5 separate regions of the Homo sapiens genome follow, and regions 1, 2, 4 and 5 are each linked to region 3. Evidence: promoter capture Hi-C in human tissues and cell types (Jung and others, 2019). All regions are on one chromosome and are shown on one strand. Each heading gives the region's core, a stretch centred on a gene start or on the middle of the fragment in contact. The rest is flanking DNA. Distances are from core to core; before and after follow the strand shown. Region 1 overlaps ZNF721 (zinc finger protein 721). Region 2 overlaps ZNF721 (zinc finger protein 721). Region 3 holds the start of ZNF141 (zinc finger protein 141). Region 4 has its middle 53 kb from the start of MIR571. Region 5 has its middle 72 kb from the start of MIR571.

What was found. Contacts are between HindIII fragments. The study calls those that stand out against the background at their distance.
Region 1: a contact is called between a fragment that was not itself captured here and the fragment with the promoter of ZNF141 in region 3, in 3 of the 25 tissues and cell types used here (dorsolateral prefrontal cortex, lymphoblastoid cells and spleen).
Region 2: a fragment that was not itself captured here is called in contact with the fragment with the promoter of ZNF141 in region 3 in 3 of the 25 tissues and cell types used here (dorsolateral prefrontal cortex, lymphoblastoid cells and mesenchymal stem cells).
Region 4: a contact is called between a fragment that was not itself captured here and the fragment with the promoter of ZNF141 in region 3, in 2 of the 25 tissues and cell types used here (dorsolateral prefrontal cortex and spleen).
Region 5: a contact is called between a fragment that was not itself captured here and the fragment with the promoter of ZNF141 in region 3, in 8 of the 25 tissues and cell types used here (adrenal gland, aorta, dorsolateral prefrontal cortex and 5 more).

The regions. Positions count from the first base shown.
Region 1 is chr4:435,415-440,288 of GRCh38, reverse strand. It overlaps ZNF721 (zinc finger protein 721), which reads left to right. Exons shown (of 3, transcript NM_133474.4): 3 at 1-301. It also overlaps the pseudogene ABCA11P and the pseudogene LOC100533734. Among named protein-coding and RNA genes, the nearest start is that of ZNF721, 61 kb to the left of the region's middle. The HindIII fragment of the contact is 8,490 bases long and covers 1-4,874 here.
Region 2 is chr4:456,810-462,234 of GRCh38, reverse strand. All of the region lies in intron 2 of ZNF721 (zinc finger protein 721), which reads left to right. It also overlaps the pseudogene ABCA11P. Among named protein-coding and RNA genes, the nearest start is that of ZNF721, 40 kb to the left of the region's middle. The HindIII fragment of the contact is 3,564 bases long and covers 2,085-5,425 here.
Region 3 is chr4:335,855-340,946 of GRCh38, reverse strand. ZNF141 (zinc finger protein 141) reads right to left here and starts at 3,133. Exons shown (of 4, transcript NM_003441.4): 1 at 2,961-3,133. The coding sequence starts at 2,963. RefSeq lists enhancers at 3,284-3,383, 2,428-3,388, 3,494-4,009 and silencers at 4,024-4,133, 4,364-4,423. The HindIII fragment of the contact is 20,671 bases long and covers 1,221-5,092 here.
Region 4 is chr4:400,690-406,096 of GRCh38, reverse strand. No RefSeq gene overlaps it. Among named protein-coding and RNA genes, the nearest start is that of MIR571, 53 kb to the right of the region's middle. The HindIII fragment of the contact is 8,017 bases long and covers 1-5,407 here.
Region 5 is chr4:420,022-425,279 of GRCh38, reverse strand. No RefSeq gene overlaps it. Among named protein-coding and RNA genes, the nearest start is that of MIR571, 72 kb to the right of the region's middle. The HindIII fragment of the contact is 5,047 bases long and covers 673-5,258 here.

The DNA.
Region 1 (4,874 bases), core at 740-3,239, 100 kb before region 3:
CCTTTGCATTAGGTGGGCATTATTCATAGACTTCTACATGAAAGAGAAGAGAAATAAAAGATGCACCAGGAAAATCTGAGCAGAGAGGCTTTTAGTGGTTGACTTACTGAGTGATGCCTGAAGTAGGTGTTCAGAGTAATACTTTGCGTTATACTGAGAGAGAATCTGAATTTTAGTAGTAAATTGTTTTGCCAACTGTATATTTATGTAATAAGTGCAATAAAATGCAGTAAATTTTAAAATTCTCTTAAGATAATGTGTGAACTTAATTTTTGAAATAAAAATTGTTATTGTGTTAAAATTTTTGTGCCGTGAATGAAGTGTTTTATTATGCCACCAACTTTCACCTATCCAACCTTACTCAAGGGTGTACGTTAAAGATGGTAACAATGTACTATCTGGTAATATAATTGAATGACATCTCTAGTCTTTTTTAGTGGCTTTCAACAGCAAATAAATTGAAGAATATTGTTTGCATGTTACATTTTTATTCTTATTGAAATTTTTCAAAAGGTTTTGTGAGTACATAGTATGTGTATATATTTATGGTATATATGGGTTATTTTGATACAGGCATACAGTATGTAATAATCACACCACAGTAAATGAGTTATTATCACCTCAAGCATTTATCCTTTGTATTACACACAATCCAGTTACACACTTTAATTATTTTTAACTACAGGTCATTTTATGTTTGTAATAAACATTCATACATTCCTGAGTCTTGAATACTTTTAAAAAATGTTTCATATATATCTTTGAACATGTGGCATGTCCTCCTGCAAACACATACAGACATTTAATTTACTTGGAGTTAAATATATAAATTTTGTGCTCTAAAGATAAACGTTGGGCACAAGGAAATTATGGAGCAAGTAATTGTGTTTGCATGAGAGTTTATACCTATTTTCCAAAGAAAATAGCAATATTGGAACAAAGAAGGTTCTATTAATACTGTGGATAGGTAATTTACTAGAAATCTAAAACATTTTGAAATCAAATCTATATTTTCTTCTTTTCATTTAATTACTGTACAATCTAATGAATCATCGTTGAGAATCTCCCCATGCCAATCAATTCTGGTTTTATGTGGTCCTCATGCTCTAGCTATAAATTTCTCATTTTTTTTGTTTCCACTTCATAAAGTATGTGAGCTTGTCAGAAATTATAAGAATCATTTTTATAAAATTTAGTGCACCAAAAATACTTTTTAGATGTAATTTCACAATGTGTGTATTTATGTTTTATTTAATTAGAACATTTCATTTTATTGGACAACCTTATATAAGCTGTTTTCTTTAGTTATTGTTCTTTTCACTTTTTATAACTAAATAAGTTTGTTCAGGCAAGTACTGGGAAGACATAAGTATTGGGGATGTTTTGATAAATAATTGTAGTGAACAAACACAAAGTGCTGGGTGTGTAATAGATGCTCCATAACTAGCCATAAATATTCCTGGAGTTAGTTCGTAGCTCCAAGTAAAAGATTAAAAATATCTATGTTGAAGAAATGTCATTAATTGTGCATGTGGAGAGGACGTGTTCCCAGGCTGCAAAACTGACTCAGTCTGAATTTAAAGAGGATTTCTGTTTTTATTTTCTAATTATCTTTAGTTTTGTGATGTCTTCTTTTCCTTTGTGTTTTGGCTACAGTTTCCTCGCTGATCTCTTCATGCCGTGTAATTTCACATGGACTTTCAAGGTTCAGATGAGAAGTTTAGAATTTTTAATGTGGTATATTATTGTTTTTAACTGGGTTGTTTGAGATTATTTATAATTTATCAATACAACATTCAGATGACTTGAGAGTAATTCACTGTTCACAGGTAAGAGGATTAAGTCAGCATTGCTTCTCTGTATTGGTAAAGGAAAAATTGTATGAGATTCTAACAAAAAGTGTGTTAAACATAAGTTAGAATAGGTAAAACATTAATATAAGTGGGTTGCATATTGTAAGCACCATATGAAGAAACTCATCAGAATTTTGATATCTCTTAAGATAAAATATATCTTAGAAAAAAAATTTTTTTTTTTTTTTAGACAGAATCTTTCTCTGTTGCCAAGGCTAACCTGCAGTGGCACGATCTCAGCTCACTGCAACCTCTGCCTCCTGGGTTCACGTCATTCCCTTGCCTAAGCCTCCCGAGTAGCTGGGACTACAGGCGCCCACTCCCACGCCTGGCTAATTTTTTGTATTTTTAGTAGAGATGGGGTTTCACCATGTTAGCCAGGATGGTCTCGATCTCCTGACCTCATGATCCGCCTGCCTCTGCCTCCCAAAGTGCTGGGATTACAGGCGGGAGCCACCACACCCGGCCCTCTTGAAATTTTTAAGAGACTTAATGGTAGGTGAAGGATTTTACATATCATTTTCTATGACATAGCAAAACTATTTTTTTAAGCTGAATCTTTTGAGTGTAAATGTTAAGTGTTGGAAAAATAGAATGATCTGTGTAGATTCAAGATTCAAAATCTGCAGTGATCTTTTCTGTTGAGATTCATGTTACAATCTTGAGGAAATTTGTTATGATTTTTTTGTTTTAGTGGATGCAGTTCATGAGGTACGGTTTTCATTTTTAGTCACTTTATCCAAGTCCTTCGTCACCTTCTCTGGAAAATCAGATTATGGCAGCTATTGAATTCAAACGTTCATTAATTAATGTAATTCAGCATATACATAATAATATATACCAAATACTAACCATAATCCTGTATATCTGTTAATTTTCACAGAAACTCAATGCATAGACATTATTATTATCCTTATTTTACAGAGGAAGGAACAGAGCCACAGAGAAAAATGACTTGCTCACAACAGAAGAGCCAGTAGTAAAACACAGGCAAGTTTGACTCTAGAGATAAGTCTTAACTACTACGGTAAACAACCTCTTCAAACAGAAAATACATGATTATCTTCAACACCCATTTTTTTTTTTGAGACGGAGTCTCGCTCTGTCGTCCAGGCCGGAGTGCAGTGGCGTGATCTCAGCTCACTGCAAGCTCCACCTCGCGAGTTCACGCCATTCTCCTGTCTCAGCCTCCCGAGTAGCTGGGACTACAGGTGCCCGCCACTGCGCCCGGCTAATTTTTTTGTGTTTTTAGTAGAGATGCGGTTTCACTGTGTTAGCCAGGATGGTCTCGATCTCCTGACCTCATGATCCGCCCACCTCGACCTCCCAAAGTGCTGGGATTATAGGCATGAGCCACCGTGCCCGGCCTCAACACCCATCCTTAATAAAAAATTAACAAACATTGGGCTGGGCGCGGTGGCTCACGCCTGTAATCTCAGCACTTTGGGAGGCAAAGGTCTCGAACTCGAGACCGTCCTGGCTAACATGGTGAAACGCCGTCTCTACTAAAAATACAAAAAATTAGCCAGGCGTGGTGACAGCACCTGTAGTCCCAGCTACTTGGGAGGCTGAGGCAGGAGAATGGCGTGAACCCAGGAGGTGGAGCTTGCAGTGAGCCAAGATCACGCTGCTGCACTCCAGCCTGGGCAACACAGCGAGACTCCGTCTCAAAAAAAAAAATTATAATTTCATTTATGTGAGATATTTTTAGTAGTCAGCTCATAAAAACAAAGTACAATGGTGTTTGTCAAGAGGTGGGGGAGAGTGAAAATGTTACCAGGAAGTGCAAAGTCCTTAGTTCTTGTTTTCTTGAGAGAAACAATTCAGCCCAGACACAAAGAACACACCAAAAGAGGAGTAGGTTGGCCCAGCTGGAAACAGTCTTGAGAGTTACATGTTGCAGTTTTTATTATCATAGACTTAAAAAAAATTTCCCACCTCTGTCTTAAGTGTCTGCCTTTGTTTAGTATCCTGCTTCCTGGTAAATCTCTTCTTTTATCCTCATCGAGTTTCTGCCCAGGTCTGTGAGATGCTTCCTTACTGTCAGCTGATATACATGTGTGAGTTCCAGTGATCAATGAATCTTAATGGCAGCACTGCTTATTACCGCCATCTTAGGAAAATAATATAGCAGTCAAATGTGTACTTACTATGCCTACGTATCTCTTAGGAATTTTCCTTTAGCCCTTTTTCCCTTTTTATCAGCATGTAGCTAGCTACATTCTGACAGTTTAATCACAGTATGAGCAATTACTGGGTGTCCTAAGTGGTGTTTCAGGGTGTTCTTCATAGGTATTTCTGCTCCTCTCTGCTCAAATTTAGCATACATGTTTTGGGTTGTCTTTGGAGCATGAGGCTTTTTCCTCTGGGGCTCTTTTTTTCTGTTCATGTCTAACTGCCTACTCGAACATTCCCTCAATAGATTGTGACTCTAAAAATCTTTGAGACAGTGCACTGTGGGTCTTCTGTAACTACTTCCTGGTGACATAAGATAACTCATCAGCATCTCATTATCTTGCTCTTTGTCAGAAAAACATTCCCTCCATGTTTTCCCAGGTTTGACTTGCAGTATCCAGAGGAAATGTGGAGAAACACAGTTGTACAGAAGGGAAGAAAATAGGTTGATACTCCTGTTGCAGGACCATTTGAAGTCTGAGAGTTTCCAGGTGAGAGGAAACAAACCTGGTTACTTGATTTAGTGAGTAAAGCTCACAAAAGAGAAAAAGGAAGACAAAAGCTAGGGATCCCCCAAAAAGGGATGTGATGAGAATTTGAACCAGTTGGCACCCCAGGAGAACTAGCCCTTAGTGGCATGTTTCTGATGGTGACAGGCTTGGTTTATAAAATCTCTAACATGGTCCTGGACTTTCCCTAATCTGTTAACCCAGAAACAGCATTTTTCTCCTAGCATAAGGCAAATGCTTTTGTGAGCTGCAGCTAGTGTGGCAAGACCTCTACAATTTTGAACTACAGCCACGAGATAATCAACTTGTTGCTGTCACTCTGTAAGAGTCTGAGCAG
Region 2 (5,425 bases), core at 2,617-5,116, 120 kb before region 3:
GGTTTGTAGTTCTCCTTGAAGAGGTCTTTTACATCCCTTGTAAATTGTATTCCTAGGTATTTTATTCTTTTTGTAGCAGTTGTGAATGGGAGTTCACTCATGATTTGGCTCTCTGTTTGTCTATTATTGGTATATAGGAATGTTGTGATTTTTACAAATCAGTTTTGTATCCTGAGACTGCTGAAGTTGCATATCAGCTTAAGGAGATTTTGGGCTGAGACGATTGGGTTTTCTAAATATACAATCATGTCATCTGCAAACAGAGACAATTTGACTTCCTGTCTTCCTATTTGAATACCCTTTCTTTCTTTCTCTTGCCTAATTGCCTTGGCCAGAATTTCCAATACTATTTTTATTTTTTTGAGATGGAGTCTTGCTTTGTCACCTAGGTTGGAGTGCAGTGGCGTGATCTTGGCTCACTGCAACCTCCATCTCCTGGGTTCATGCAATTCTCCTGCCTCAGCCTCCCGAGTAGCTGGGATTACAGGCATGTGCCACCACGCCTGGCTAAGTTTTGTATTTTTGGTAGAGACAGGGTTTCACCATATTGGTCAGGCTGGTCTTGAACTCCTGACCTCAAGTGATCCACCCACCTCAGCCTCCCAAAGTGCTGGGATTACAGGCATGAGCCACCACACCCGGCTTTCCAATACTATTTTGAGTAGGAGTGGTGAGAGAGGGCATCCTTGTCTTGTCCCAGTTTTCAAAGGGAATGCTTCCAGCTTTTGCCCATTCAGTATAATATTGGCTGTGTTTGTCATAAATAGCTCTTATTATTTTGAGATACATTCCATCAGTACCTAGTTGATTGAGAGTTTTTAGCATGAAGGGGTGTTGAATTTTATTGAAGGCCCTTTCTGCATCTATTGAGATAATCATGTGGTTTTTGTCATCGGTTCTGTTTATGTAATTGATTACATTTATTGATTGGCGTATGTTGAACTAGTGTTTCATGCTAGGGATGAAGCTGAGTTGATCATGGCGGATAAGCTTTTTGATGCGCTGCTGGATTCATTTGGTTTGCCAGTATTTTATTGAGGATTTTCACATCGATGTTCATCGGGGATATTGGCCTGAAATTTTTTCTTTTGTTGTGTCTCTGCCAGGCTTTGTTATCAGGATGATGCTGGCCTCATAAAATGAGTTAGGGAGGAGTCCCTCTTTTTCTATTATTTGGAATAGTTTCAGAAGGCATGGTACCAGCTCGCTCCCCTTTGTACCGTTAGTAGAATTTGGCTGTGAATCCATCTGGTCCTGGCTTTTTTTGGTTGGTAGGCTATTAATTACTGCCTCAATTTCAGAACTTGTTACTGGTCTATTCAGGGGTTCAACTTCTTCCTGGTTAAGTCTTGGGAGGGTGTATGTGTCCAGGAATTTATCCATTTCTTCTGGATTTTCTAGTTTATTTGCGTAGAGTTGTTTATCGTATTCTCTGATGGTAGTTTGTTGCTGTGGGATCAGTGTTGATATCCCCTTTATCATTTTTCATTGTGTCTATTTGATTCTTCTCTCTTTTCTTCTTTGGTAGTGTTGCTAGTGGTCTATCTATTTTGTTGATCTTTTCAAAAAACCTCCTCCTGGATTTGTTGATTTTTTTTTTTTTTTTTGAAAGGGTCTTTCGTGTCTCTATTTCCTCCAGTTCTGCTCTGATCTTAGTTATTTCTTGTCTTCTGCTAGCTTTTGAATTTGTTTGCACCTGCTTCTCTAGTTCTTTTAATTGTGATGATAAGGTGTCAATTTTAGGTCTTTTCTGCTTTCTTTTGTGGGCATTTAGTGGTATAGATTTCCCTCCAAAGACTGCTTTGGCTGTGTACCAGAGATTCTAGTAGGTTGTGTCTTTGTTCTCATTGGTTTCAAAGAACTTATTTATTTCTACCTTAATTTCGTTATTTACCCAGTAGTCATTCAGGAGCAAGTTGTTCAGTTTCCATGTAGTTGTGCAGTTTTGAGTTTCTTAATCCTGAGTCCTAATTTGATTGCACTGTTGTCTGAGAGACTGTTATAATTTTCTTTCTTCTGCATTTGCTGAAGTGTGTTTTACTTCCAGTTATGTGGTCAACTTTAGATTAAGTGCGATGTGGTGCCGAGAATAATGTATGTTCTATTGATTTGGGGTGGAGAGTTCTGTCGATGTCTATTACGTCTGCTTGGTCCAGAGGTGAGTTCAAGTCCTGAATATCCTTGTTAATTTTCTGTCTCATTGATCTAATATTGACAGTGGGGTGTTAAAGTCTCCCATTATTATTGTGTGAGAGTCTAAGTCTCTTTGTGGGTCTCTAAAAACTTGCTTTATGAATCTGGGTGCTCCTGTATTGGGTGCATATATATTTAGGATAGTTATCTCTTCTTGTTGCATTCATCCCTTTACCATTAGGTAATGCCCCCTCCCCCACCTTTTTTTTTTGAGACGGAGTCTTGCTCTCTTGCCCAGGCTGGAGTGTAGTGGCACAATCTCAGCTCACTGGAAGCTCTGCCTCCTGGGTTCACGCCATTCTCCTGCCTCAGCCTCCTGAGTAGCTGGGACTACAGGCGCCCGCCACCACGCCCGGCTAATTTTTTGTATTTTTAGTAGAGACGGGGTTTCACCATGTTAACCACGGATGGTCTTGATCTCCTGACCTCGTGATCTGTCCACCTCGGCCTCTCAAAGTGCTGGGAGTTACAGGTGTGAGCCACTGCACCTGACCCCTTCTGTTTTTTATCTTTGTTGGTTTAAAGTCTGTTTTATCAGAGACTAGGATTGCAACTGCTGCTTTTTTTTTTGCTTTCCATTTGCTTGGTAAATATTCCTCCCTCCCTTTATTTTGAGCCTGTGTTTGTCTTTGCACATGAGATGGGTCTCCTCAATATAGCACACTGATGGGTCTTGACTCTAATTTTCCAGTCTGTGTCTTTTAATTGGGGCATTTAGCCGTTTTACATTTAAGATTAATATTGTTACATGTAAATTTGATACTGTCATTATGATGCTAGCTGGTTATTTTGCCCATTAGTTGGTGCAGTTTCTTCATAGTGTTGATGGTCTTTACAGTTTGGTATGTTTTTGCAGAGGGTGGTACCGGTTTTTCTTTTTCATATGTCCATCCTTCAAGAGCTCTTCTAAGGCAGGCCTGGTGGTGACAATCTCTCAGCATTTGCTTGTTTGTAAAGGATTTTATTTTTCCTTCGCTTATGAAGCTTGGTTTGGCTGGATATGAAATTCTGGGTTGAAAATTATTTTCTTTAAGAATGTTGAATATTGGCCCCCACTTTCTTCTGGCTTGTAGGGTTTCTGCAGAGAGATCTGCTGTTAGTCTGATGGGCTTCCCTTTGTGGGTAACCTGACCTTTCTCTCTGGCTGCCCTGAACATTTTCTGTTAGGCATTTTTTAGATCTGTTTTTTTTTTCTTTAGACGGAGTCTTGCTCTGTCACCCAGGCTGGAGTGCAGTGGCGCAATCTCAGCTCACTGCAGCCTCTGCCCCCTGGGTTCCAGCGATTTTCCTGCCTTAGCCTCCTGGGTGGCTGGGACTACAGGTACATGCCACCACGCCCTGCTAATTTTTGTATTTTTAGTAGAGATGGGGTCTTGCCATGTTGGCCAGGCTGGTCTCGAACTCCTGACCTTGGGTGATATGCCCGCCTTGGCCTCCAAAGTGCTGGGATTACAGGCGTGAGCTACCACGCCTGGCTTAGATCTGTGTGTTATTGTTAGTGGTTCCTGGAGCATTTTTAGTTTCCTTTAGTGGTGTTATGTTTGCCTGATCCTTCATAAGTCATGAAGCCTTGTTTTGATGTCCTTGCATCTGAAGGAGTAAATACCTCTTTCAGTCATTATAGACTAGTTTGGGGAGGTAAATATCTTCTGTTGGATTCTGGGCTGATGAGATTTCCACTGAGATTGTAATAAAGTGTTTCAGATCCAGGTCACATAAGTCCTACTGGGTCTGCAGTGAAATTCATGCTTGGGAGACCTGTTATCTGGGCATCAGACAGTTGTGGATTCTATCTATTTTCTGAGAAGACTGAACTTTCTTCAAGATGTTGATCAATATGACTGGCACTGAGGAAAAAAGCTTCCAGTTATATCTGCAGATTAAGGTGCTGATACAAATCAATGTGAGCAGGTGTGGCTCCCGCTGTGTCGCTCTTGCGAGGTATTTGGAAATGCTCTAACCTAGTCATTGGACAGGTTCCTAAATGAGCAGTACTGACCCTTGATCACAGCTAAGAGGGTGTGGAACTGATTCATAGGGCTGCTTCAGGATACACAGCTGAGACCAAAGTCTTCAGGTCTGTTTTTGGGTTCATGGCATTTCTCCCTCCAGATTTCTGGGTTGGCAGGACTTCTTTCAGACTCTAGGTGACAGAGACCAGAGCTTGGTTATAGGACTGCTTCACGATTCACAGTGGGAATAAAGTCAGCATGCCTACAGGGGCACATACAGGTGTGTCTTTTGGCAGGTCCCAGGTTAGGAAAAAATTCTTCCGGACTTTGGTTGCATGGACTTGGAATCAGGTTATAGTGCCACGTCAAGATCCACCATAAATAAATATTGGCAAGTCTACATCCAGGGGCACAGATGGATGTTTCTCTCTGTGGGTGTCTGGGCAGGATTTCTTCCACACCATGACTGATATGTGCAAAGGGTGGATTTTGGGCTAATTCAGAGATCACAGATAGAACCAACTTCTAAAGGCCTTTCACCTGAGGCATAGGTGTCTTGGTTTAGGTGTCTTCACAGATGGTGCTAGTAGCAGGAACAAAACCAAATGGTCTACAGCTAAGTCTACAATGAAAATTGGACACATTTTATTCTGTAGCTGGGACTGTGATGGGCAAGCATGCCACTCAAGCAAGGGCATGTCTTTTCAATACAGCCCTCCTCAGTCTTGGGTTCACAACCCTTGACATGGATTCCAAAGCTCCCATAAAGTTCCTTTTTTCAGGACATAACTGCTGCTTTTTTATAACTGTAGAAGTTGTGGGTAGAGAACCTCCTGCCATCTTACTGTGTTTTCAGTTTCTGATACATTCTATGTCAAATTTATCTGATTTCAAATTCAAAATTTCTGAAATAAAATGCTCACATTTACTCATTGTGTAATAAATAATTGTATTGAAATGCTTCATTCTTATTAGAGCATTTTTTAATTGAGATGCATTTTCTTTGCATGTAAGGATTCAAAATGCCAGATCTTCATTAAGTACATAGTCAGAGTTGAAAACTGTAGTTAAAGGATTGTTTTTATGATACATCTATATTATATTCAGTGTTTTATAGATCAGAATTTTTTATTCTTTCAACTCTATTTTACTGGGGAGTGTTTTCATGTAGGTTCTCCTCCATCATTTATTTATTAATTTATTAATTTATTAATTATGGAGTCTCGCTTTGTTGCTAGGCAGGAGTGCAGTGGCACAGTCTCGGCTCACTGCAACCTCCG
Region 3 (5,092 bases), core at 1,884-4,383:
ATTAGAAGCAGTTACAAGTATATTTTTAAAGGCAAAAAGAAAGGCAGACGGAACTGATAGAAAGCTGTCAGAAATTCTTATTGGTTTATAGAAGTAACATTGGTTAGTGATTGGCTATGTACGTTGTTAAGCTATAAGGTGTGGGTTATAGTGTCCAGTATGGCATTATTAGGTTAATTTATATCCACTTGTGGCAATAGCAAACAACTTCAAAAGACAAACAGTTCAAAGAGGGGAACGGTAGGACTGTGGTCTCATTTTAACACATCACTTGGTCTCGTAATTAAAAGAACTTGTATTTCTCAAACAAAAGTTCTGTTCTTCTCTCAAATCCCAGGACATAAACTCAGAATTTGGAACTGCACATTTAAGACTTGGAGGGCTGGTAAGCACATTTGTGGGCATTTGGGCAAGGGGAGAAGGGAGAGAATGGAAGTTCTCAGGTTTAATCAATGCACATGTGTGAACCTCGCTGGATTTATGGGCCCCATGATTTCTGAATCAGTGTCAGATCTGAAGATCATTGGCACACTGAAAGAGGTGGAAAAACTGATCGCTATCCTAAAAAGTCATTTTTGTAGAAATCTAGTCAAACTGCTATAGAAGGGATTGTAGATCCCAAATAGAGAGATCATTTTGTTTGCAGCTTTGGGGAGCACTTTGCTGCACTTCGTGCACTTTGCTGCACAACTGTGGGTTGTGACTGGAATCCTGAGAAAGAAGGTTCTTCTCTAAAACGAAGCCTGGTGGGCACTTTGTGTATAACATCTAGTAATTCTTGACAGCGTGTGGAAAATATAACAGCAAAATCATCTACAATCCTAAAATACTGTCCAAAATAATAGAACAGCAAGAAAATGTGTTGTTAGAGAATTAAACAAAATGTGGTGTGCATTACAGGCAGTCTACTAAGAGACTGCCAAAACAAAGAAAGTCACCATAATTAGCTCTCAAGTAGAAGACTTGACAGTACCATGTATCATACATAGTTTATTACACTTTCACCTAGTAATTTGGGAGGTCATCCGGGTTTCCTAATTGGTAATATTCAAAGGGAAAATAAACTTCCCACAGCTTCAGGACAGGAGGTAGATTTGATATGTGAAGGCAGGTACCTGCTGAAGGCAGCCTCCTACTCTGCTACAGAAATTGCGGAATAGGTTATATATTCTTGCTATGCACATTTCAAAGCAATAGTTTCCATGTCCTAAAGACAATTTTGAGTCAAAAAAGACAAATCACCTAGTTAACAGATTAAAATGAGTTATATATATTTCAAAGAAGCAGAGAAAATATTTAAATATAAAAGTTTTCAAACTAAATGCTTTAAGGGAGAAGAGTAAAAATTCTTTCCTCATTCTAAAGAGAAAGCATTAAGCCTCTTCTGATTTGTATTTGGTCCTACAACAGGCAGGTCTAAAGGCATGGTCTTGAACTCACTAACGTTGAATTCTTGTAGCACATGAGGGATGCACTTGAGCAAACTGTGTGCACAGGAAAGAGGATTTGTGGGGAAGAAAAGAGCAGAAGAAAGGTGCTATCAAGAGCCTTGAGTGGGGGCAAGGCAGGATTGACGAAAGGACTGGTTTGTGCTACAAGTTCAGGCCCAGGCAGGGCTAAGCTCTAACTGATTCCTGAGCCCATAAAGGCAGAGGAGATTAGGATCAGGTGGTCCAAAAGCCTGGGTGGGTGAAGAAAACAGATTCCTGCTACAGATCTGGGGTTAAAATGAACCAGGAGTCTTCTGGGCACTGTGTGTGTTCTTGGGAGAAAAACCTAGGAGCAAAGCTGCCATGGGCACAATTCCTGAGGGTAGAACCCTGTCCTGGGACAAGTGTGGCCGTGCGAATGCCCAATGGGCGGGCTCAGGAGTGGGTTAGCATTGGGTGGGGGCTGGCAGCAGGGTGCAGGGAAGGGATGTTTCTCAGAACTCCTTTCCTCCAAGTTCTCAGCGCCCTCTCTCCCCGGGAGGAGACCTGGAGGAACAGAACAGTGCGCAGCAGGACAGTGCATGTGCAGAACCCGGCTGGTCTCCCGCGGACACCTGCGACTCCCTCCAGCCCAGGCTCAGCCATGTCTTTCTTCTGACAGGAAACGTGAGGAGTTTGCTCAACACCAGTCAATGCTCCGACCCCAACGGGCTGTCCAACAACTCACTAACGACACCACCCGGAGTCAGCACAGACCCCACAAGCTCAGCGCTCTTCCCGCAGCTGCCCCCCTGCAGACGCCAGTCCCTGCCTCTGGACACCCGTCTTCATTTCTGAACACCTGTCTACAAACCAGGGGCCCACACCCTCCTCAAGTTCAATAATATGACAGAACTACTCACAGAACTCAGCGAAGCGCTGTGCGCGCCCACACTAGCGTATTCTAAAAGATGCCACTCAGGAACAGCCACGCGGAGGAGGCGCACAGGGCAAGGAGACTGGTGGGCAAGTTGGAGCGGGCGGGTGATTTGCTTCGCTTCCTCACACACCTCACAAAAGCTTTTCCTTCAAGACCCGCTGGCAGCCCCCAAACCACGAGCCACGGCCGGCGCTGTCCCATTAATGAGTCCCCATTTGCTCACATGAACTCTGTTTTGATGGGGCCTCGATCTCATTCCGAACAGGGTAAAGCAGGGACGGGATCCCCAGACCACAGCTTCTCCCACAGCTCCTCCCACGCCGGCATCGCGCACGCCGCGCGGGCGGCTTCCAGATAAGCTACTCCTCACCCCACAGCCTGGGGAAGGTGCGGGGCTGCGGGCGCAGAGCTGCACAAGGAGGGCTGCAGGCTGGGCCAGAGCCGCTGTGCGGGGACCGACAGGAGCCCAGGTCCCTCACCGGAGGGTACTGAGGCCCCAGGGCTGAGCGGCGGCAGCGGGGACTCCGTTCGCAGACTCGGTCCCGCCGCCATTTCCCGCCAGCTCCGATGAGACCTCCTCAGCCTTGGGACGCCCTGCCCCGCACACTCACCATTTCCCCACTTCTGAAGTATTCGGGAGTCTTAGCTACCAATCATCCAATACCCGCAGGTCACAGAGCGACGGAGGCTGAGCTGTGGCCGAATCACCAAGGCCTCCCACAACTGAGAACGCAGAGAGATGAAGCCCCTAACCCGCGGTCTGGTAGTAGCCAGACGCAAAGACCCGCGCCACATCCCGGAAGCCACCGCCTCCTCTCTGGCTGCGTGCCTGATTGGGCAGTTTTCACTCCAGTGCGCTGATTGGATACGGCTCCAATCTCCCCGCCATCAGACCTTGAGTGACAGAAGTTGCAACCACATACTCCACGGAATGTGGCGAGAGTGACAGCCGGGGGGCCTCCAGGCAGTTTCAGGCGGGGCTTTCTCTTCGTGCTTGGCCTGGCACAGCCCAGGGGTCATTTTTTAACCTTGTGATGTGTAAGGTGACGTCCATTTAGAAATTATACACGCACGCACACACACAGACATATACGCGCGCGCGCACACACAGACGCGCGCACGTACGCAGTCTCACATAAACATACAAAAGTCACAGACACACACACACACACACGCACGCACCCACGCACGCACAGCCCATCCTTCCTCCAAGGCTCGCGAATCATCTCTCCACAAATCCTGCCTTCGGGGCCGCAGCCTGCAGGCCGACCTCAGTCCGTCCTCACAGAGCCTAGTTGGGTGCACAGCTCTCCCTGACGCGCGAGGAGCAGGTTCACGGGAGTCGGTCGCGCATCCCCAGCGCCCTGCGGGCCTCGCACCGGCTGTGGCGGTGACCCCGGTGAGGAGGGCTTTGGTGCGGGTCACCGTTGCTGAGGACACCCTCCTCCCCCGGAAGCGCGGTCCTGGGGGTCTGGGGGGCGGGTCCCTGACCGCTGTAAACAATAGGTCGGTGGTGTCCACGCAGCAGGCAGCAAATTCTCAGGAAGTGAGCGTCCCGTCTTTGGCTTCACCTTCGTGTCTGTAGAATGGGGGTGAGGGGACTCAGGACTCGGAGCGCTGTCGGGCGGGGCGAGGTGGGCTGAGAGTGTGTCTCCCTCCCCAAGCTCACCCGGAGCTGTGCGGGGCGGGACCGCCCCAGGACCCTCGGTTCCCAGGAGCTCCTGGGGGCCCCGCCGCCCCCACCCCAGGCCGCGCTGCGCAGCCCCAGTCCCCGCCGGCCCCACCGCGCGGTCGCTTTGAGGTCGGCCGGGGTCTGCCCGGCGATGGCGACGCTGCAGCCGCTGGAGCCGGGGCCACCGGGGATCTCGGCGGGACCTGGCGGCAGCGAGGACGCGGACCCTGGAGAGATGGGAGGGGCGCGCCCCGAGCCCGAGCCCCACCCGGACCCGGCTGCCGTCGGCCTAGCCAGGGCCGGGGCGGACACCGTCGAGGACGAAGCCGGGCCCGCGCCCCTGGGCGACCCGTTGAGCCGCGGAGCCCCGCGGGGTGGAGCCGGGCCAGGCCCATCCGCTCCGGGCGCGGGCAGCTGGCGTCGCGGGTGGGTCAGAACCCAGGACACGCCCAGGAGTCCGACCTCATGGCGCTGCAGGGCCTGGGGAGTGGGGGCTGGGGACAGCGCCAGGGCCAACCCGACGCCAGCACCCCCGGCAGACCCCAGGAGCCGCCTGTGAAGAGACTGGATAGGTGCATTAAGCGATCAGAAAAGTCACTGGCTGGCCCTGTTGATGAGCAGAACGCTTTCAGAGAAGTGTATGCTCACGCAGTGCTTGGACAGCATTCGCGTAGTTTGACACTTGTCTGCTTGGGCGGATAGATGCTCACACACATAAGTTTGTTTTGTAGTTATGCAGGATTGCACTGTGGCTAAGTACACAGACTCTGGGTGCACATCCCAGCTGCTCTGCTATTTCCAGCTGTGTGACCATGGGGAAGTTACTTGCCTGTGCTCAGTGTCCTCTGTAAAGTGAAGATAGCAGTACCTGCCTCATGGAGTCCCTTAAGTGAGTTAATAGTGTAACATGTTATGGCGTCATGCACACAGTCACCATCGGTAAATATAGTCTATTATGCCTGAACCCCAGAGGAGCACATGTCCTTGAAAAGTCTAAAATTCAGGACTCTAAAATCCAGACTGTGAGACCCTGGAATCCTCCAGCAGCATTCTAACGTCTCTTGGCAATTG
Region 4 (5,407 bases), core at 1,960-4,459, 65 kb before region 3:
GCTGAGGCAGGAAAATGGCGTGAACCCGGGAGGCAGAACTTGTAGTGAGCAGAGATCGCGCCACTGCACTCCAGCCTGGGCTACAGAGCGAGACTCTGTCTCAAAAAAAAAACCTAATCACCCTTACCCCGCTCAACACCAATGTCCCATCCCACAGCACACTTTAAAAGGATTAAAGTCTGTTATCACTCGCCTGTTACAGCATGGCCTTTTAAAGCCTATAAACTCTCCTTACAATTCTCCCATTTTACCTGTCCAAAAACCAGACAAGTCTTACAGGTTAGTTCAGGATCTGCGCCTTATCAATCAAATTGTCTTGCCTATCCACCCCGTGGTGCCAAACCCATATGCTCTCCTATCCTCAGTACCTCCCTCCACAACCCATTATTCTGTTCTAGATAAACCTAGCTGACCCCACAAATCCTAAATCCTTTCCCCACTCCTCTTTCCATTCCTTAAAAAACAGCCCTAAAAGCTGCTCCCACATAGCTCTGCCTAACTCATCCCAACATTTTTCATTACACACAGCCAAACTGCAGGGATGTGTGGTCAGAATTCTTACACGAGAGCCGGGACCGCGCCCTGTAGCGTTTCTATCCAAACAACTTGACCTTACTTTTTTAGCATAGCCCTCATGTCTGTGTGCAGTGGCTGCCGCTGCTTTAATACTTTTAGAGGCCCTCAAAATCACAAGCTATGCTCCACTTACTCTCTACAGTTCCCATAACTTTCAAAATCTATTTTCCTCCTCACGCTTGACACATATACTTTCTGCCCCCCAGCTCCTTCAGCTATACTCAGTCTTTGTTGAGTCTCCCACAAATACCATTGTTCCTGGCCGAGACTTCAATCCGGCCTCCCACATTATTCCAGATACCACACCTGACCCCCATGACTGTATCTCTCTGATCCACCTCACATTCACTCCATTTCCCCATATTTCCTTCTTTCCTGTTCCTCACCCTGATCACACTTGGTTTATTGATGGCAGTTCCACCAGGCCTAATTGCCACTCAACAGCAAAGGCAGGCTATGCTATAGTATCTTCCACATCTATCATTGAGGCTACCACTCTGCCCCCTCCACTATCTCTCAGCAAACTGAACTCTTTGCCTTAACTTGAGCCCTCACTCTTGCCAAGGAATTACATGTCAATATTTATACTGACTCTAAATATGCCTTCCATATCCTGCACCAACATGCTGTTATATGGGGTGAAAGAGGTTTCCTCGCTATGCAAGGGTCCTACATCATTAATGCCTCTTTAATAAAAACTCTTCTCAAAGACACTTTCCTTCCAAAGGAAGCTGGAGTCATTCACTGCAAGGGCCATCAAAAGGCATCAGATCACATCACTCAGGGCAATGCTTATGCTGATAAGGTAGCTAAAGAAGCAGCTAGCATTCCAACTTCTGTCCCTTATGGCCAGTTTTTCTCCTCATCGGTCACTCCCACCTATACTCCCACTGAAACTTCCGCCTATCAATCTAATCTCTTCCCACACAAGTCAAATGGTTCTTGGACCAAGGAAAATGTCTCCTTCCAGCCTCAAAGGCCCATTCTATTCTATCATTGAGAGGTGACAGCGTGCTGGCAGCCCTCGCAGCCCTCGCTTGCTCTCGGTGCCTCCCCAGCCTTGGCACCCACTCTGGCTGTACTTGAGAAGCCCTTCGGCCTGCCGCTACACCGTGGGAGCCCCTTTCTGGGCTGGCCAAGGCCGGAGCCGACTCCCTCAGCTTGCTGGGAGGTGTGGAGGGAGAGGCGTGGGCGGGAACTGTGGCTGCGCACAGGGCTTGCGGGCCAGTGTGAGTTCTGGGTGGACGTGGGCTCAGCGGGCCCTGCACTTAGAGCAGCCGGCTGGCCCCGCCAGCCCCAGGCAGTGAGGGGCTTAGCACCTGGGCCAGTAGCTGCTGTGCTCGACTTCTCGCTGGGCCTTAGCTTCCTCCCCGCGGGGCAGGGCTCAGGACCTGCGGCCCACCATGCCTGAGCCTCCACCCCCCCAGCGATGGGCTCCTACGTGGCCCGAGCCTCCCCAATCAGTGCCGCCCCCTGCTCCACAGCGCCCAGTCCCATTGACCACCCAAGGGCTGAAGAGTGCGGACACACGGCGTGGGACTGGCAGGCAGCTCCACCTGCAGCCCCGGCGCGGGATCCACTGGGTGAAGCCAGCTGGGCTCCTGAGTCTGGTGGGGACTTGGAGAACATTTATGTCTAGCTAAGGGATTGTAAATACACCAATCGGCACTCTGTATCTAGCTCAAGGTTTGTAAATGCACCAATCAGCACTCTGTGTCTACCTCAGGGTTTGTAAATACATCAATCGACCTTCTGTATCTAGCTAATCTAGTGGGGACATGGAAAACTTTTGTGTTTAGCTCAGGGATTGTAAACGCACCAATCAGCACTCTGTCAAAATGGACCAATCAACTCTCTGTAAAACAGACCAATCAGCTCTCCGTAAAATGGACCATCAGCAGGATGTGGGTGGGGCCAGATAAGAGAATAAAAGCAGGCTGCCCGAGCCAGCAGTGGCAACCTGCTCGGGTCCCCTTCCACACTGTGGAAGTTTTGTTCTTTCCCTCTTTGCAATAAATCTTGCTGCTTCTCACTCTTTGGGTCCACACTGCCTTTATAAGCTGTAACACTCACCGCGAAGGTCTGCAGCTTCACTCCTGAAGCCACCGAGACCATGAACCCACCAGAAGGAAGAAACTCCAAACACAACCGAATATCAGAACGAACAAACTCGGACATGCTGCCTTTAAGAACTATAACACTCACCGCAAGCGTCCGCGGCTTCATTCTTGAAGTCAGTGAGACCAAGAACCCACCAATTCCGGACACATCATCATTTCATAACCTCTTCCACGTAGGTTACAAGCTGCTAGCCCGCCTCTTGGAACTTCTCATTTCCTTTCCATCATGGAACTCTATCCTCAAGGAAATCAGTTCTCAGTGTTCCATCTGCTATTCTACTACCCCTCAGGGATTGTTCAGGCCCCCTCCCTTCCCTACACATCAAGCTCAGGGATTTACCCCCGCCCAGGACTGGCAAATTGACTTTACTCACATGCCTCGAGTCAGGAAACTAAAATACCTCTTGGTCTGGGGAGATACTTTCACTGGATGGGTAGAGGCCTTTCCCACAGGGTCTGAGAAGGCCACCATGGTCATTTCTTCCCTTTTGTCAGACAGTTCCTCAGTTTGGCCTTCCCACCTCTATACAGTCCAATAACAGGCCTTTATTAGTCAAATCACCAAAGCAGTTTCTCAGACTCTTGGTATTCAGTGGAAACTTCATACCCCTTACCGTCCTCAATCTTCAGGAAAGGTAAAATGGACTAATGGTCTTTTAAATACACACCTTACCAAACTCAGCCTCCAACTTAAAAAGGAGTGGACAGTACTTTTACCTCTTGCCCTTCTCAGAATTAGAAACTGTCCTCGAGATGCTACCGGGCACAGTCCATTTGAATTTTTATATGGACGCACATTCTTACTTGGCCCAAACCTTGTCCCAGACACCAGCCCTCTAGACAACTATCTTCCAGTCCTCCAGCAGGCTAGACATGAAATTCGCCAGGCTGCTAATCTTCTCTTGCCCACTCCAGATTCCCAGCGATATAAAGACACCCTAGCTGGACGATCAGTTCTTGTTAAGATTCTGACCCCTCAAACTCTACCACCTCAATGGACTGGACCCTACTTAGTCATCTATAGTACCCCAACTGCCGTCCACCTGCAGGACCCTCCCCATTGGGTTCACCATTCCAGAATAAAGCTGTGTCCATCAGCCAGCCAGCCTGATATCTCCTCTTCCTCCTGGAAGTCACAAGTACTCTCCCCTACTTCCCTTAAACTCACTCGCATTTCTGAAGAATAATAATAACCCTTATGAGCCTAATACATCCCTTCATTCTGTTAGGTGTATCCATCCTTACCCTACTCTTTGCAACAGGGCTTTATGCAGTCATCCCCACTACTTGGACTACACCCCAAAAACTTGTCATCCCTGCTATCTTCTGTCTAGTCATACTCCTATTCACCATTCTCAACTACTCATAAATGACCTGCTCTTGTTTACACTGCCAGTTTACATTGTTTTGCCAAGACTTCACAGCTGATAACTCCTGGTGTTATCCCCAAACCACCACTCTTGACTCCCTCTTGGACTGGATAGATGATCTTTGCTGACAGGGCACCCTCCAATACTTCCACCCTGATGAAGTTCTATTCTTTACTTTTATACTCACTCTTATTGTCATTCCCATTCTTATGCCACTCTTTACCTCTCCCAAATTGCCTCCAGCATACTGTCAATTTCACCCACTCTCTCCTCACTGCCTCCAATCCTTCTCTAGCAAAGAATTGTTGGCTATGTGTTTCCCTTTCTTCCTGCTCTTACACAGCCACCCCGCTCTACAGGCCGATTGGGCTACCTCTCCCGTCTCCCTGCACCTCCGAACCTCCTTCGATAGCACTCATATTTACGCACCTGGGGAACTTCTTTACTTTCTAGACAGATTTGGTGAGAACTCCTCAGACATTTCACACCAACAAGCTGTCTGCCACACTTCTCCGCATCTACTTATAGCACCTTTCTCCTTATGTCAATTCCACCCCCACCCATATTTGGACCCCTAACCTCACAAACAATTATCCCTGTTGCCGCTCCGTTACGCATCTCCCAACAACAGCCTACTGGAATCCCTGCAGGCAACCTTCCACTGTCCAAATATTCCTTTACTCTTTATCTCCAGAACCCAGCCACACACATTACCAAACGGATGGGAGCATTCCAACTTTGCATTACTGATAAGCCCTCTATCGTTACAAACTAAAAAGCATTGGCAGTCACTATTGTTTAGGAAGACACCTACCCTGCATCTCACTCCATCCTTGGCTACCCTCCCCCTGCTCATCTGAATCTCCTCCTAGCCCCTCCTCTTGCTTGTTTATACCCAGCCCCATGAATAGCAGTGAAAGGTTACTTGTAGACACTATGCGCTTTCTCATACACCATGAAAACCAAACCCCTCCCTCTACACAGTTGCACCATCAATCCCCATTACAACCTCTAATGGCTGCTGCCCTTGCTGGATCTCTAGGATTTTAGGTGCAGGATTCCTCTTTCAGTACACCCTCTCACCTTTTCACTTTACATTTCCAGTTCTGCCTGACACAAGGTCTCTTCTTTTTATGTGGCTCTTCCACCTACATGTGCCTACCTGCCAACTGGACAGGCACATGTACTCTAGTCTTCCTTACCCCCCAAATCCAGTTTGCAGATGGGAACGAAAAACTGCCTGTCCCTCTCATGACACCAACATGACAAAAAAAGAGTCATCCCACTAATCCCTTTACTTGTGGGTCTAAGACTTTCTGCCTCCACTATTGCACTTGGAAC
Region 5 (5,258 bases), core at 1,947-4,446, 84 kb before region 3:
AATAGGTGTGAATTTTAGTACATATTGAAATTATATGGAAGAAGATAACCATAATCTGTAAGAAAGTACCACAGTTAATATTTTCTTTAGCCAACTAATATTCAATGTATTTTTTATGGGTCCTTTTTCAAAGGTAGTATCAGTAGGCATAGTCATTTTCTGTATCTTTTCACCTCACAGTTCACGAACATTTCCCATGTCCTTATAACACTTTTGTGTTATAAAATTGCTGCACTAATGTTATAGCTGTATTAATGTAATACCAGAGTTGTTGTGTTTGGGTTATATGTAAATTTATTTCTTATAAATAAAACTTTGACAGACTTAAAAAAAAAAGTGGCAAGCTGGGCACAGTGGCTCACACCTGTAATCCCAGCACTTTCGGAGGCCAAGGCAGGTGGATCACCTGAGGTCAGGAGTTCGAGACTAGCTTGGCCAACATGGTGAAGCTCCATCCCTACTAAAAATATAAAAATTAGCTGGGCGTGGTGGCGGCATCTGTAATCCCAGCTACTCGAGAGGCTGAGGCAGGGGAATTGCTTGAGCCTGGGAGGCGGGGGTTGCAGTGAGCTGAGATGGTGCCACTGCACTCCAGCCTGGGTGATAAGAGTGAGACTCCCTCTCAAAAAAAAAAGGAGCAGTTATGCCCTGGCAAAAGAACCTTTATGGGAACTTTGGAATCCATGTCAAAGGGTGTAAACCTAAGACTGAGGAGGGCTGTATTGAGAAGGCATGAGCTTGCTTGAGTGGCATGCTTGCCCATCATAGTCCCAGCTACAAAATAAAATATGATTAATTCTCATTGTAAGTATAGCTGTAGGCCATTTGGTTTTGTTTATGCCACTAGCACCATCTGCCAAGACACCAAGGAGGATTCATAATGTCCTGTGTCTCAGGTGAAAGGACTTTAGATGTTGCTCCTCTCAGTGATCTCCGAATTAGCCCCTTGCACACATCTATCATGATGTGGAAGAAATCCTGCACATGCAGGAACCCACAGACAGAAACGTCCATCTGTGCCCCTGGATGTAGGCTTGCCAATATTTATTTAATGGTGGATCTTGACGTGGCACTATAATCTGGCTCCCAGTCCATGAAACTGAAGTCCAGAAGCAGTTTTTCCTAACCTGGGACCTGCCAAAAAACACACTATATGTGCCCCTGTAGGCATGCTGGCTGACTTTATTCCCACTGTGAATCTTGAAGCAGTCCTAAAACCCAGCTCCAGTCCCAAAACCTACCTCCAGTCCCTGTCAACTAAAGTCTGGGAGCAGTCCTGCCCACCCAGGAATCTGGAGGGAGAAATGCCATGAAGCCAGAAACAAACCTGAAGACTTTGGTCTCAGCTGTGTATCCTGAAGCAGCCCTATGAATCAGTTCCACACCCTCTCAGCTGTGACCAAGGGTCAGTACTTCTCATCTAGGAACCTGTCCAATGACTGGGTTAGAGGATTTCCAAAAACCCAGCAAGAGCCACACAGCAGAAGCCATACCTGCTCACATGGATTTTATCAGCTCTGTCATCTGCCTGTATAACCAGAGACTTTTTTTCCTCAGCACCAGTCTTACTGATCAAGATCCTGAAGAAAGTTCAGTCTTCCCAGAAAATAGAATCCACAATGGTCTGATGCCCTAATAACAGGTCTGCCAAGAATGAACTTCACTGTGATCCAGATCCAGTGCACCTTACTGCAATCTCATCAGCACAGAGATCCAATAGGAGAAAATATTTACCTCCACAAACTAATCTATAATGACTGAAAGACGTATTTACTCCTTCAGATGCAAGGACATAAAAAGAAGGTATCACAGATCATGAAGGATCAGGCAAACATAACATCACCAAAGGAAACTAAAAATGCTCCAGTAACCACTTACAGTAAGACACAGATCTAAAAAATGGCCAAGAATTCAAAATAATTTTCTTAAAGAATCTCAATGGATGCAAAAAGACCACACATTACTAAATTCTTTTGCAACAACGTATGAACAAAATCACAATTATAATAAAGAGAACCCATTAAAAGAGAACCAAATAGATATGCTGGAGCTGAAGTACACAATAGGAGATCTAAAATATTTAAGAGAAAGCTTTAACAGGAGACCTCGTTACACAGGAAAAAAAAAAACAGCAGATGTAAAAGTAAGTCATTTGAAAGTTTCTGATTAGAATTTTAAAAAAGAATGTAAGAGTGAATAAAGCATTTGGGTCCCATACTGCATAGTAAACAGTAAGAATGTACGTATTTTAGGGGGTTCATGAGAGAGAAAATTTTAAAAATTGTTTAAAGATATAATGTCTTAAATTTCTACCAATCTTGGAAGAAATATAGACATTAAATTGAAAAGCTCAAAATGTCTGTAGCAAGAAGAATCTAACAAAAATTGTCCATAACACGTTGTAATTATGCCAAAATTCAAAGACAAGGAGAGATCCTTAAAAGAAGGAAGAGAAAAGAGATTCTTCACATACAAGGGAACTTCTATAAGGTTATCAGCAGATTGCCCAGCAAAAACCATGCAAGCCACATGGAAGTGAAACCGTATATTTAAAGTGCAAATGAAGAGAGAAAAAGAAAAAACCTTGACAACTAAGAATACACCTGACAAAGCTGTTCTTTAGAAATGATGTATCAATCAAAATCTCAGATTTAAAAAAAGTTGAGGAAATTTTTCATCACTAGACCTGACTTACAAAAAATGCTAATGAGAATTTTTCGAGTTGTAATGGAATCCTAACTTACAACAATAAAGTAAATATTACTGAAAGTCATATATACATAGTCAAATTTAGAAGGCTATAAACCTGTAATTATGGTCAAAAATCACTTTTAACTATGGTATAAAAACTATAAGAAAAAATTACTAAAAATAGCTTCAATAAATTGTTAATGGGTATACGATATAAAAAGATGTAGCGTGTGAGGCTGGGCGCAGTGGCTCACGCCTGTAATCTGAGCACTTTGGGAGGCCGAGGTGGGTGGATCATGAGGTCAGGAGATCGAGACCATCCTGGCTAACACAGTGACCCCCGTCTCTACTAAAAATACAAAAAATTAGCTGGTTACAGTGGCAGGCGCCTGTAGTCCCAGCTAGTAGGAAGGCTGAGGCAGGAGAATGCCATGAACCTGGGAGCAGAGCTAGCAGTGAGCCGAGATTTCGCCACTGCACTCCAGCCTGGGTGACAGAGCAAGACTCCATCTCAAAAAAAAAAAAAAGTAGGGTGTGACATAAATACTATGTTGAAGGGAGTAAGATTGTTTAATTTTTCTATACATAGAAGCTAACTTTTGCTTGAGGCCAGGAGTTCAAAACCAGTCTGGTCGATATAGCAGGACCCTGTCTCTTCAATAAGTACATAATTAAAATTAAAGATCTCAGAAAGCTATTTATTCTTTTAAAAAAAGCAGCTGGGCCTGATGGCTCATGCCTGTAATCCTAGCATTTTGGGAGGCCAAGACAGGTGGATTGCTTGGGCCCAGGAGTTCAAGACCAGCCTGAGCAACATGGCAAAACCCTGTCTCCATAAAAAATAGTAAAAAAATTAGCCAGACATGGCAGCATGTACTTGTAGTCCCAGCTACTTGGGAGGCTGAGATAGGAGGATTGCTTGAGCCTGGGGAAGTTGAGTCTGTACTGAGCTATGAATGCACCACTGCACTACAACCTGGGTAACAAAGCAAGACCCTGTCTGGCCTGGGTAACAACGCAAGACCCTATCTGTACAAAACAAACAGTTAAATTGCTATCTGAAGCTTGATTTTATAACTATGAGATGTTTTACATAAGTTTCTTGGAAATTACAAAAAAAAATTGTAGTGGGTAAATACAAAAAAAGAAGGCATAAAACAACAAAAACAAAACAAAAATTCAAGAAAACACCAGGGAAGACAGCATGAAAGAATTAACAGAAACGAAATGGTCAGAAAACAGAAAACAGCAGTAATAGGGCTGGGTGTGGTGGCTCACGCCTGTAATCCCAGCACCTTGGGAGGCTGAGGTGGGCAGATCACGAGGTCAGGAGATCAAAACCATCGTGGCTAACACGGTGAAACCCCGTATCTACTAAAAATACCAAAAATTATCTGGGCGTGGTGGCGGGTGCCTGTAGTCCCAGCTACTTGGGAGGCTGACGCAGGCGAATTGCATGAACTCAGGAGGCAGAGGTTGCAATGAGCCAAGATCGTGCCACTGCACTCCAGCCTGGGCGACTAAGTGAGATTCTGTCAAAAAAAATAGAAAAGAAAAGAAAAGCAAATAGAAGTAATAAGTTCTTATCAATCAGTAATTCCTTTAAATATATATTTAGTTATTCAATAAAAACATTGCTATAGTGTGAGCATCCCCTCCAAAATTCACGTTAAAATTTAACTACCATTGTGAGAAAATTAAGAAATGAGGCCCTTAATAAGTTATTAGATCATGAGAGTTCTACTCTCATGAAAGGATTAGTATCATCATTTCCACAGTGGGTTAGTCATCATGAGAGTGGGTCTATTATAAAAGTGAGCTCTGGTGTACACCTTCCATCATCCTCAAGCCTTTGGTCATGTTGTGATGTGGAAGTATGATTCTCATCAGATGGGAATGATATGCTCTTGGACTTCTTGGCATCCAGGATTCTGAGCTAAGTAAACTTCTATTCTTTATAAATTACCAACTCTGGGATATTCTGTTATTGAAGCAAAAAATAAATGAAAACATTCACAGAATGTCTGAATAGATTTAAAAAATCAACAATATGCTGTGCACAAAAGACTTATTTTAGATTTAAGGACATACATAGCTTAATGGTACAAGGATGAAAAAGAATATTCCATGCCAATAATAACTAAAACAGTGTAGAAGTGGCTATATTTATATCAGACTACATAGACTTATAGAAAAAAAATTTGTCATAAAAAAAGAACTTTATTATATAATGATGAGTCTAATTTGTCAAAAAATAATTAAATATATATATGTACCAAACACTGGAGCCCATAAATATATTAACACATATTAAGAAAAGTGGAGAAACAGATATAATAGGGGAATATACTGCCCTACTTAATACATCATTCAGACAGAAAGCTAGTGAAAAAACAATGTACTTGCTTAACACTATAAAACTGTACCTAACAGACATATGTAGAACATTTCATCCAACAGTATAATTTATATTCTTTTCAAACATACATGGAACATTCTCCAGGACACATCATAAATCTGGCCCACAACAAAAACAAACAAGTCTTTTCATTTTTAAAAAGACTGAA